Linked DNA regions of Homo sapiens: region 1 is linked to region 2. Evidence: promoter capture Hi-C in human tissues and cell types (Jung and others, 2019). All regions are on one chromosome and are shown on one strand. Each heading gives the region's core, a stretch centred on a gene start or on the middle of the fragment in contact. The rest is flanking DNA. Distances are from core to core; before and after follow the strand shown. Region 1 overlaps HERC1 (HECT and RLD domain containing E3 ubiquitin protein ligase family member 1). Region 2 holds the start of HERC1 (HECT and RLD domain containing E3 ubiquitin protein ligase family member 1).

Region 1 (5,840 bases), core at 3,162-5,661, 130 kb after region 2:
AGCTCACTGCACCACTGAGGCTCAACCTCCCCAGGCTCAAGTGACCCTCCCATCTGAGCCTCTCAAGTAGCTGGGAGGGACTGCAGGCACATGCCACTATGCCTGGCTAATTTTATTTATTTATTTTATATATTTTTTTATTTTGTAGAAACGGGGTTTCGCCATGTTGCTCAGTCTGGTCTTGAACTGGGCTCAAGCAGTCCACCCACCTTGGCCTCCCAAAGTGCTGGAATTACAGAAATGAGCCACCGTGCCTGGCCAAGAATTCTATGTGCTTGTTTACCCCTTCCAATATTTTGAGGAGGAAATGTAAAATGTTTTCCCTCATACAGCATTTGCATTTACTAGTCTCAGTGGTCTTGAATTACTAAAAGCCTGATGAGAGGAATAGGAGAGAGATAATGCTGTTTAATTATATCCTGTTTACTGAAGTTTAATGGATGTATAAATGACAATGGGTGTATACACATTTTCAGCTGCTCTTTCCATGCCTGCAAAGGCTCCTCCTTGAGAGGGCCCATTGCCTGTAATCTCAGTATTTGACAGTGGGGATACTAAGATTCACGCTGTTGAACCACAATTGCGCCTTTTTCTCCCCTCACTTCAGTTAATGTTTCACAATTGGTCTAAGCCCTTGGTCTGAGAAAGTGAATATGTAGGAAGGGGCAAAGAAATGTGGGCAGATACATTTAGCCACCTTGCTCAGCTTTTCAGAGGCATCAAAGCTAAATTTACTCTTTTTTTTTTTTTTTTTTTGAGACAGAGTCTCGCTCTGTAGCCCAGGCTGGAGTGCAGTGGCGTGATCACGGCTTACTGCAACCTCCTCCTCACGGGTCCCTGTTCAAGCAATTCTCCTGCCTCAGCCTCCTGAGTAGCTGGGATTATAGGCATGTGCTGCTAAGCCCAGCTAATTTTTGTATTTTTAGTAGAGACGGAGTTTCACCATGTTGGCCAGGCTGGTCTTGAACTCCTGACCTCGTGATCCCCCCACCTTGGTCTCCCAAAGTACTGGGATTACAGGCGTGAGCCACCATGCCCGGCCAGCTAAATTTACTTCTAAAAGAGGTGGATGAAACATTTCTTCTGCTTAGCACCTCAGAGGCAATATGAAATTTGTATTTAGTAAACATTTATAAACTACTTACTATATGAGCATTGTTCTAAGCCCTTCACAAATATTATAGTAACTCATTTAATTTTCATAACAGCCTGATAAAATTCTTGACAAAACCTGTAAAAATATGTTAGTAATTTGGTACTTTGATAAAACTTAAAAGATTTGCTATGGTTGTACGATTGTTTACAGAAAGACAATACGTTTTTGCAGATACTTGATTTTAGTTTTCATATTTAAGCTGAAGATGATACAGTGAAAAGTTGTGGGATATCAAAACAGCAACTTAAGCAGCATCAGAAATCTTATTAGTTAAAATACTGTGTGGTTTGATTATCGCCCCTAATCTTTAAATATTTTGATAGGGTTTTATTGCTAAAATAATACTGGAAACATTTATCAACATGTGTGTTTCATGGTATAACATGTATGGGTGAAATGCTATTTTGTCTGTGCATTTCAAATTAGATGATATAAAGAAAAGCGAATGTAAATGTTTCTCTCCTGTATCAAATTTCTCCTTTTGTTTTCTGATTCTCGTGTGGTAGTGTATTTACTCCTTTTTGGCCAGTTGAGCCCCAGAAAAAAGAAGAGCTTCAAGCAAGTACATGATGGCATGTTTAATTTTTTTCCCCTTTTAGCTTGCCTACATATTTTATGGTTTATAAAGTATGTATTGCAGCTCTGCCATGTTCATTTTGAAAATTCCATTTAAAAACCAAACTTGTAAGGACAAGTAAACAATCTCAAAAATTTTTTGTTGGATTTTGTATTTTCTTTATATAGTAGGTGATTCTGAATTAGTATTAAGAATTGGGCTTAGTCTCAATTGTTATGTAGAAGCTTTTAATGCCCTTTTCAGATATAATATTTCCTGTATTCAGATAGTACAGAGCAAACCAAAGTTATCAGATTGTTATACTTAAAAAAAAAATTAAAGTTCTTTCCTCTCCCATTTCCATATTATAAATTTTTGTGTTTTAAGTCTTTTTGATGTCAAACTAAATATTTTGATGGAAATTATTTATCCTGATGCTTCCACATAGTGTGTTTCCTGTTCTTAATATTTTATTTATACAAAGTTACATTTGGGTTAATTTCATCCGTTAGGGCTCAGCAGACTACAGCTAGGAGGCCAAGACTGACCTGGCATCTATTTTTATCAGGTTTTATTGGAACACAGCCACACTCATTTATTTAAGTGGTTGCTTTCATACTACAACAGCAGAGTTGTGTAGTTGTCACAGAGACCTTATGGTCTGCAAAGCCTAAAATATTTACTGTCTGGCCCTTTACAGAAAAAGTTTGCCAACCCCTGCTTTAAATTGCAGAAGATTTAATTTTGGGCTTCGTCAGCCATTCCATAGAATATTTTGGTTTATATGAAGACAGTTCAGTATTGGTAGATTCATAATTGAACCTTTATATAGGCAGGCAATTGAAATTTCCATCAGTGATTTGTGAGTTGGTTAATAATGAATATGTAAGACTACCTCCCATAAAATTAAGGAATTAATGTCATTATGTGACAAACCAATTTTTTTGTGCCTCTGTTTCCTCATTTGTGAAAATTGGACTAAATAATCTTTAAGGTCTCTTTTTCTTCTGCAGTTCTAATATCAGTTCCTTGCGCATTTTATATTCATTTTGAAAAGTAATTTATAAGTATTAGTAACTAGAAGAACCTTTTATTCTAAAATTTTAATATTTAAAAAAAAACACCCCCCCAAAAAACAAGTTCAATGTGAGGAGCCAGAATCTATCATTTGTAAGTTAAGGCTAAATACAGATTCTGAATTTGAGGTGCTTTAAGGAAATGAAAAAAGAATGTATATATTTTTTACATTAGCCTCTACTTTATTCTTTAAATATTTTTAACTTAATACATTATGCATCTATGATATTATTCTTTGAATTTTCAGTTTTTTCTGTGTCACATGAAAGAATATTCAGGTCTACAATTTGGGGAAATTTTTAGGTAGGTTGTTATTTTTCATGTTCAGCAAGAATGAAAATTAAGCTTTTTTTTTTTTTTTTTTTTTTGAGGCAGGGTCTCGCCCTGTCACCCAGGCTGGAGTGCAGTGGTGAAAATTAAGCCTTTTTAAATCTTAATAATTCTTTCTAAAACACAGAAGGCAGATAAACCATATATTCTTTGCCATTCTACATTATTTTACTAGGATACATATAAATTATTTCATAGTTACTTTGTAATATTAGCTCCGTGTTACGAATTTTGAAATCCTAGGGTTTAATTGACACCAGTATAGTAATTCAAAAATAAGATTCTACATTGAATATTGTTGTTAGTTTGTTTTCTCTGTGGGCATTAGTGTTTAAGTAGTTATCTTCCCAAACTTTTCTATCTAGTTACATAACTGATATAATTTTTATGCATATTTAATTGGGTACCTTAAGATACTTCCCTAATTGAGAAATGTAGTATATTCACATAATAGGATGTTATACAGCAATCAAATAAATGAACCATGGTTACACTTAGTAATGTGGATGAATATTAGCAATATTATATTGAATGAAAGAGTGTGTCCAAAAAGGTGATATAAAATGATACTCTTTTTTAAAAGTCAACGACAACTAAAACCATTATTCATCTTAGGAATACATTAAAACAATAAAAACAAGGAAATAATAAACCCAGGCCTCAGGATAATAAAACTTTAGGTAGCAAGAGATGGGCTGGAGGAGGAGCAAATAGATAGAAGTTACTGTTAGTTTTCTAGTTCTTGTGTTCACAGATATTTATTATAAATATGTGATTTCAAAATTGGGCCATGCATGGACCAATGATGAGAGTATGTCATGACGAAAGGATTGTAGTTAATCAAATTTATGTATCTGAGACCAGTTAAATTAAAGATTTGTAAGAATTGGACATTTATATATTTATTTAAAGCTAATATTGACAAATGACTTGGACAGTTGCTGTTATGTTCAAACATGTTAACATTTTGCTGTCTAATGTAAAGATTTTAGCTTAAAAAATACCCACTGGCAAATCTAATGGTATTATATTTAGCAACTATTTTGATGCCACTTGATAATTTTATATAGGTATCATTTTACAGTAAATCTCATATTCTTGTCTGTGAAACTTTGCTTCCTCTATATAGGAGTTTCACAACCTGCAGTAAATATGCACATGACACAGTCAGTGAGAATGTTCCTTATATTAATGAAACCCAAAGGGTGATGTTTGTGTCTGCTTTTTGTGTAAGTTTACTTGCCCTTCTATATTCATTTTTTGGTAATGTTTCATTGCAGATATGTAGACACTTTGTTCAGTCTTAACTTGCCCTTTGTAATGATAATGTTAAATTAGATGAAATCTTTCTGTTTTGAGTAGGTCTTACTAGCAGTGTCTTAAGTGCCTAGTTCCTTTTTGTTCATAAATGATGATCTGGTTTAATACTGCAGAGCATTTTAAGCTAAGCATTTTGAGAACAGCTTCTGCCTTTCTTTTTCTTGTGGCAGCGTGTTGCTAAAGCGCTTACAGAGACACTGGTACATCAAACAGGGCTTTCCCTTTATTTTCTTACATTGCTCTAATTTTTGTTTGTTTGTTGTTTTTACCAAAGCATTTTGCTCAGATTCACTTAATGCATGCGCGTATTCAAACATGAGTATCCATTTTTCACCAGTTGGTTATGGTAGCAGCACTCAGCCTTATCTAGTTTCAGAATGTATGCTCTACTTGATTGCCATTGATATATGTTTATTCTGTTTGTATATAGGTCCTATGCACAGTCAATTGGAATCCCTGAGTGACTCTTGGGCTCGCCTGAAACATAGCAGAGACTGGTTATGCAACTCCTCCTATTCCTTTGAGTCAGATTTTGATCTTACCAAGTCTTTGGGAGTTCACACTTTGATTGAAAATGTTGTAAGCTTTGTGAGTGGAGATGTGGGGAATGCCCCAGGTTTTAAAGAGCCAGAGGAAAGTATGTCTACAAGTCCCCAGGCCTCCATCATTGCAATGGAACAGCAGCAGTTAAGGGCAGAAGTAAGTCTTTGATATTTACTCCTTATGAGAGCTCTGGAAACTTAAAACTGAACCATTGAATGTATAGTTCTAGGGAAAACCTTTCCTTTTCTTCTATTCCTTGCCTTCCCCTTTCCTGTACCTGAGCTTTTAAACATAACATTCTTCACTAGAACAGCACATTATTTTGTTTGAACTAGACAAAAGTGCATTTTAAAATTGTCATCTCTCAGAACAATATACTCAGAAGTCTTCACATGTCTCCTACAAACTAGGGTGAGACTAGTTGATGACAATAGGTCATCAGAGCCTTTTTTTTTTTTTTTTTTGGAGACGGAGTTTCGCTCTCGTTGCCCAGGCTGTAGTGCAATGGTGAGATCTTGACTCACTGGAACCTCTGCCTCCTGGGTTCAAGTGATTCTCCTGCCTCAGCCTCCAGAGTAGCAGAGATTATAGGCATGCGCCACCATGCTTGGCTAATTTTTTTGTATTATTAGGAGAGACAAAGTTTCACCATGTTGGCCAGGCTGGTCTCGAGCTTCTGACCTCAGGTGATCCACTTGCCTCGGCCTCCCAAAGTGCTGAGATTACAGGTGTGAACCACCACTCCTGGCCCTGAGCCTTCATTTTTGACCCATTTGTCTCAGTTTAAATTAGACACCTGCTTCAGGTTAGAACCTCACAGAAATAATTGCTGCAATCAAGACCCACTGTTGAATGCTA
Region 2 (5,417 bases), core at 423-2,922:
GGTTGCAGTGAGCCAAGATGGTGCCATTGCACTCTAGCCTGGGCAACAAGAGCAAAACTCCATCTCAAAAAAAAGAAAAAGAAAAAGTGGGCAAAACCAGTACAATTTTACAAATTCAAGAAAGACAGAATATCATATTTGTGAGTGACGTAGATGACATCAACAAGTTAAAAGGAGGAGCTTTTGCTTGTTGTTTTTGAGTATGCTTCACACACAATACCCAGATCATAAAGCACTAGCAACAATGACATCACTCCTCATGTAGCTACTCCCTTACATCATTTACCAGAAATACACATTTTATACATAGAAACTTAAAAGCTACACACCTAAGACCCATCATTTAATGAGTACTTAATATGTGCCGTATGTGAGCTTTACATATATTTTACTCCTCAGAGGAACCTTGTGATAACAAGAACTGGCATTATAAATTGACACATAAGGAACTGAGGTTCAGAGAGGTCAAGCAACTTGCCCAAGGTCACACACCTGGGGTAAGTGGGATTCCAGAATTCCCACCAGTGTCTGACAGTGAAGCACATGGCTCCTAACTCTTGGACTAAACTGCCTCATGTGACACACAAACATGTATCTAATTTAACCATGGGAAAGCACTCCCTCGTCTGTCTATACCGTAATTTCTTACATTAGTGACACATTCATGGCTTGTATGTTTGTGTGCTTCTCCTACGCCTCCAATTGGATTGCAAACTTCTGGAACGCAGAGGCCAACTCTATTTTTTGTCCCCAAGTCATCGGTCAGTTTAATTGATGCTCGTTAGAATATCTGGAAGGAAAGACACCATGAAGGTGGCTGGAAAGGAGTAAAACCAGGTACAGAAGGAGGAAGATGGAGATGGGGTATTCACTCAACAATTTAATGTCCACTTGGACCTATGTTAGGCGCTGGAGATATGGTGAGGACTGAGCCAGTCTGTGTCCTTCCCCTCATGGGGTTTCACGTGGAGGTCGAGGTCATGATCAAGGATGTAAGTCACCCAAAGGACACTACTGTGTTCCCAAGCAGAAAAGAAAACCGAGGAGCCAGGCCCTGGCATCTGCAGGGTTCTGGCAGTCCCATAAGGCGCAAAGACATGAACAAGGTGGAAGAGTAGGTCAAGTGAAACGCTTTTATGTGATTGAACTTAGCCGGCCGGAGGGCCGGGGCCGCTGCGATGAGAGATAAAGAGCGTGGGGCGCCGGGTGCGAGGCGGAGATAAAGGGGTGAGGCCCTGGCCCTGCCGCCGGCCGTAACACGTGTCCCTTCGCCTGGCGGCGGGGTCTTCCCTGCCCACCACGAGGAAAAGGGGGCGCACTGCATGGCCCCCCACTCCTCACCACCCTTTGTGAAACGCCCCCAATTGTGCTTCATCTGTGGAGTCAGGTCCCCGCAGGCGGTCGGGGCTGCCCGGATTCCGCGACGGCTGAAGGGTGAGGGCCGCGCGGTAGCAAAGTGTCCCCAGCACCTAGCTTGGCTCCCCTCGCTCCCAAATCCCTTTCCCCTTTTCGCTCAACCCCCAACTCCACCTCAGCCGCCTTCCTCTCGGTTCCCCTTTCACCTCCCGCGCTGGGCCTGTTGGGCGGGGCGAGGGCTCCCGGCTGCGCGAGAGTTCCGCCCAAATCTCGTGAGACTCGCCTGACGCCGCCGCTGCTGCCGCCGCCTCTTACGTCTTTCCCTTTGACAAGTCGCTGCTGCTGCAGCAAAAATAAAGGACGCGACCGCCGCAGCCTCTGCGGAGCCGGGCTCGGGTCGCCGGAGCCGCGCCCCACCCCGCCAGCTCCAGAGCCACGTACGGTAACGCATCATCTACCGTCCTCCTGGTCCTGTGTGTGTGTGTGTGTGTGTGTGTGTGTGTGTGTGTGCGCGCGCGCGTGTGTGCTTTGCCGGCCGCGCAGGGCCGGCCGGGGCCGTTTCGGGACTGCAGCCGAGCGGGGCTGCTGGGGTCCCGGGTGGGCGGCAGGCGAGCTGGGGGAGCCCTCCTGGCGCGCCGCGGATCCCCCGGGTCCCCGGCTCTAGAGGCCTCCTGCCGCCCGGGCGCCTCGGAGCAGCGTAGAAGCCGAGGCGCCCGCGGAGAGGGCCGAGAGACCCGCCCCTCCAGCGGCTTACAACGTCTGTGCCCCGGCCCCGCTGTGGTCGCGTCTCTTTCTGCTTCATTCCTTTATCTGCTGACCAGCTCCTCTGCCCCGGCTGGGGCTCGGTCCGCGGGCGGCGGCCGACTCCCTCTCAGGGTCCGGGGAGTGCCGCGACCCCGGTGTCCCCAGGCGCCGGCCGCCTTTAGCGGGGTGGAGGCTGGGACGACGTGTCTTCCTCCTCTCCTCTGCCTTTGGGTGAGGGCAGCTCATCATCTGCTAAACCTTTCTCCAAATCTCCCGCCCCAATAAAACAACAAATTATAAAGCCTTTGCAACCGGGAGGCGAGGCGGGGCGCATTGTTTAGTCTTAAGCGTGAGATGAGGATGATGATGGTGATGACAGGAGCTACCCCGGGGAACATGGTGAAATCTGTTCTGTGATGGGTGGCAGGTTACTGGGAGACACGAGGAGGACAGGAGCTTGTACCACCTCTCCCAGGAGGTTATGTAAAAGACATGTTATCTTAGAGAGCTGTGAAACACAGGGACAGATTTGTCTTAGTTTAAGAAATGTCTATAATACTTAGAATATAGAGATAATTAAATGATGGGAATAACAAATCTGAACAAACTAACCCATCTTTGTAATTCCATCTCCAGAGGTGGCATTTCATGGTTAACATTTTATTGTATTTCCTAACAGACACATTTTTTTTTATCCTTGCTTGGGACTTCCTCATTCTATATTTGTTCCAAAAATGATTTATTTTATTTGAATCAGTTCTCTGGCCTGCTTGATTAAAACTGGCTGCTAGTTCATTATCACTGGCTGAACTCTGCCATCACTATCTTTTTCACTGGGCCCTTTTCCAAAATGATTGTTAGCTAAGTGGTTTGAAAAATCAAACGTTAAAACATTGTCTGTTTGGGTCTAGTACCTATGTATATATTATATTTTTACAATTCTGTTAGTGGTGGTTGCTCAAAATGGGGCAGTATTTGTAGAAGGGAAAGAAACTATGATTATTCATAGTGGGAAGAAACCTATTTACCTCAGGTTTTATGAAATTGATTTCTACTGGATATTTTTAGACCAAAATTGTTCTGTGACATTGTTTCATAGTGCCTGTTGTGATTAGTGTGGGATGAGTATGTCTCTTTGATATATGTGTTTCCATAGCCTGCGTTTATACAAGCAAAATTGAATGTCCTAGGTGCCTGTCTTATGCATAAATGTACGTATATATGTATAGAGACACACACACACACACACGTATTCTGCACCTATACACATTTATATATCTTGGAAGTGAGTTAAGATGTATTGCTATATTATTTGAGAAAAGATAGCATTAGGAAGGGCAAAGAACAGTCATAATATTTCCCCCAAATCACATGACAAGGTTGTATGGCAGAATGAGATATCTAGGGAGGTTGGAAATCTGGAGCCTTTTAAAAATAGGATAGATTGTCATCTGGGGTTGTTGTTATTGGAATGGATTAAATGGCCTATTAAGGCCTCTTGTAATTCTAAACTTTTATGAATTTTGCGTTCCCTAAGGTTCTTATCATTTTGCTTCTTAAATTTCCAGTCATGCTGTTTGCATGTGACACATCCATTCATTTGCTGGTCATGTATTCCATTTCCAATGCAGGCACCCTGATGTTGCATGGAAGAGAAAGCAAATGTAAATGCGTCACTTAATCTGCTTATTAATATAAACATCTCTTGAAAATCTCAATTTAAAGAAATTTTGGAGAATGTGTTGGTGATTGGACTGGATTGGGTTAGTAGAGGGTGCAAATAATAAATAGTAATAACAATTCCAACGTTCCAAGCATGTTTTCCCCCAAAAAAGTCATACTGAATACTCCCTAATATTTGAAATAGAAAAAAAAGGGGGCTGGGTATATTGAAGGAGCTGACCTTTTAAAATTTTTAAAATTCAGATTTTCAGATCTTAAAATGATGATAATGATGACATCGTGGCTTGGAGAGTGAGAAGGTTGTGTTAGGATAAAAAGAAACTTGTGAAACAAAACTTGAATGTTATAGTTGGATAACTATATAATAGCAAGTAACAAACTTACTATAATCTGTTGAAGCTATTTTTAAAAATTGTAAATAGAACTTTTGGCCAGATTACAGTAGCTCACGCCTGTAATCTCAGCCCTTGGGGAGGCCGAGGTGGGAGGATGGCTTGAGCCCAGGAGTTTAAGATCAGTCTGGGCAACATGGTGAAACCTTGTCTCTATGGTAAATACAAAAATTTGCTGGACGTGGTGGTGCATACCTGCAATTCCTGCTATTAGGGAGGCTGAGATGGGAGGATCAATTGAGCCTGGGAGATTGAGGCTGCAGTGAGCTGTGATTGCACCACTCTACTCCAGCCTGGGAGACACAGTGAGACTCTATCTCAAAAGCAAAATAAAACAAAACAAACAACAACAAAGGTCTACACAACTTTGGCTTAACATACACATGAAATACATTGTTGTGAGCATGTATTGCAGATTATCATGATGTTGAAAACATAAAAAGTTGGTCAAATCATTTACAGAGAAGTTTGCAAAGCCAGGAAGGTCACATCTGCTAGCATTTTCTTTAACTACAAAAAGTGAAAAAGAGCATAAAGTAGTTGTTTACTTACTAGATGCCAGATCCGATTTTCATGATTTTAGTTTGTTCTGATGTTGCCTACCGGGCTCTCTAAATTAATGGGACTGTTAAATTTCAGATGAGATCCTTGAGCAAGAAGATATGACAGTTGTATCAGATGATTGGTTGATGGATTTTATTTATTTTTAATGATTTATTTAGAAATAATGTTAGACTTACAGAAAAGTTACAGAGAGAGTACAGAGTTCTTACATACTCTTCACCAAGCTCCCCCTAATGTTAACAACTTACATAACCATAATACAGTGATCAAAACCAGAAGTTAGCATTGGTGTAACTCTATTGACTATAGATTTTACTTAATTTCACTGGTTTTTCCCCATTAATGCCTTTTTTTTTGTTCTAGGGTCTAATCTAGGTTCCCACGTTGCATTTAGTTGTTGTGTCTTCTTCATTTCCTCCAATCTCTGACAGTTCCTCAGTTTTTGTTTTTCACGACCTTGACATTTTTGATGAGTACTGTTATTTTTTAGAACTTCTTTCATTTTGGGTTTGTCTGATGTTTTTTCTCATGATTTGATTGAGGTTAAGCATGTTTTGCAAGAAAACTACAGAAGCGATGTTGTGTCCTTCTCAATGCATCATATTGGGGGTACATGGTGTTGACATGTCTTTTTGCTAGTGGTATTTTAACTTTGAACCCTTAGCGGTATTCTTCACA

Evidence for each region. The method cuts DNA at HindIII sites, captures the fragments that hold promoters and counts their contacts. A contact is called where the count stands out against the background at its distance.
Region 1: a fragment that was not itself captured here is called in contact with the fragment with the promoter of HERC1 in region 2 in 1 of the 25 tissues and cell types used here (bladder).

What each region holds. Positions count from the first base shown.
Region 1 is chr15:63,698,026-63,703,865 of GRCh38, reverse strand. HERC1 (HECT and RLD domain containing E3 ubiquitin protein ligase family member 1) reads left to right here. Exons shown (of 78, transcript NM_003922.4): 26 at 4,870-5,138. Among named protein-coding and RNA genes, the nearest start is that of USP3-AS1, 100 kb to the right of the region's middle. The HindIII fragment of the contact is 3,729 bases long and covers 2,547-5,840 here.
Region 2 is chr15:63,830,203-63,835,619 of GRCh38, reverse strand. It overlaps HERC1 (HECT and RLD domain containing E3 ubiquitin protein ligase family member 1), which reads left to right and starts at 1,672. Exons shown (of 78, transcript NM_003922.4): 1 at 1,672-1,793. RefSeq lists enhancers at 1,484-1,613, 787-1,650, 1,651-2,516 and a silencer at 1,854-2,283. The HindIII fragment of the contact is 22,604 bases long and covers 1-5,417 here.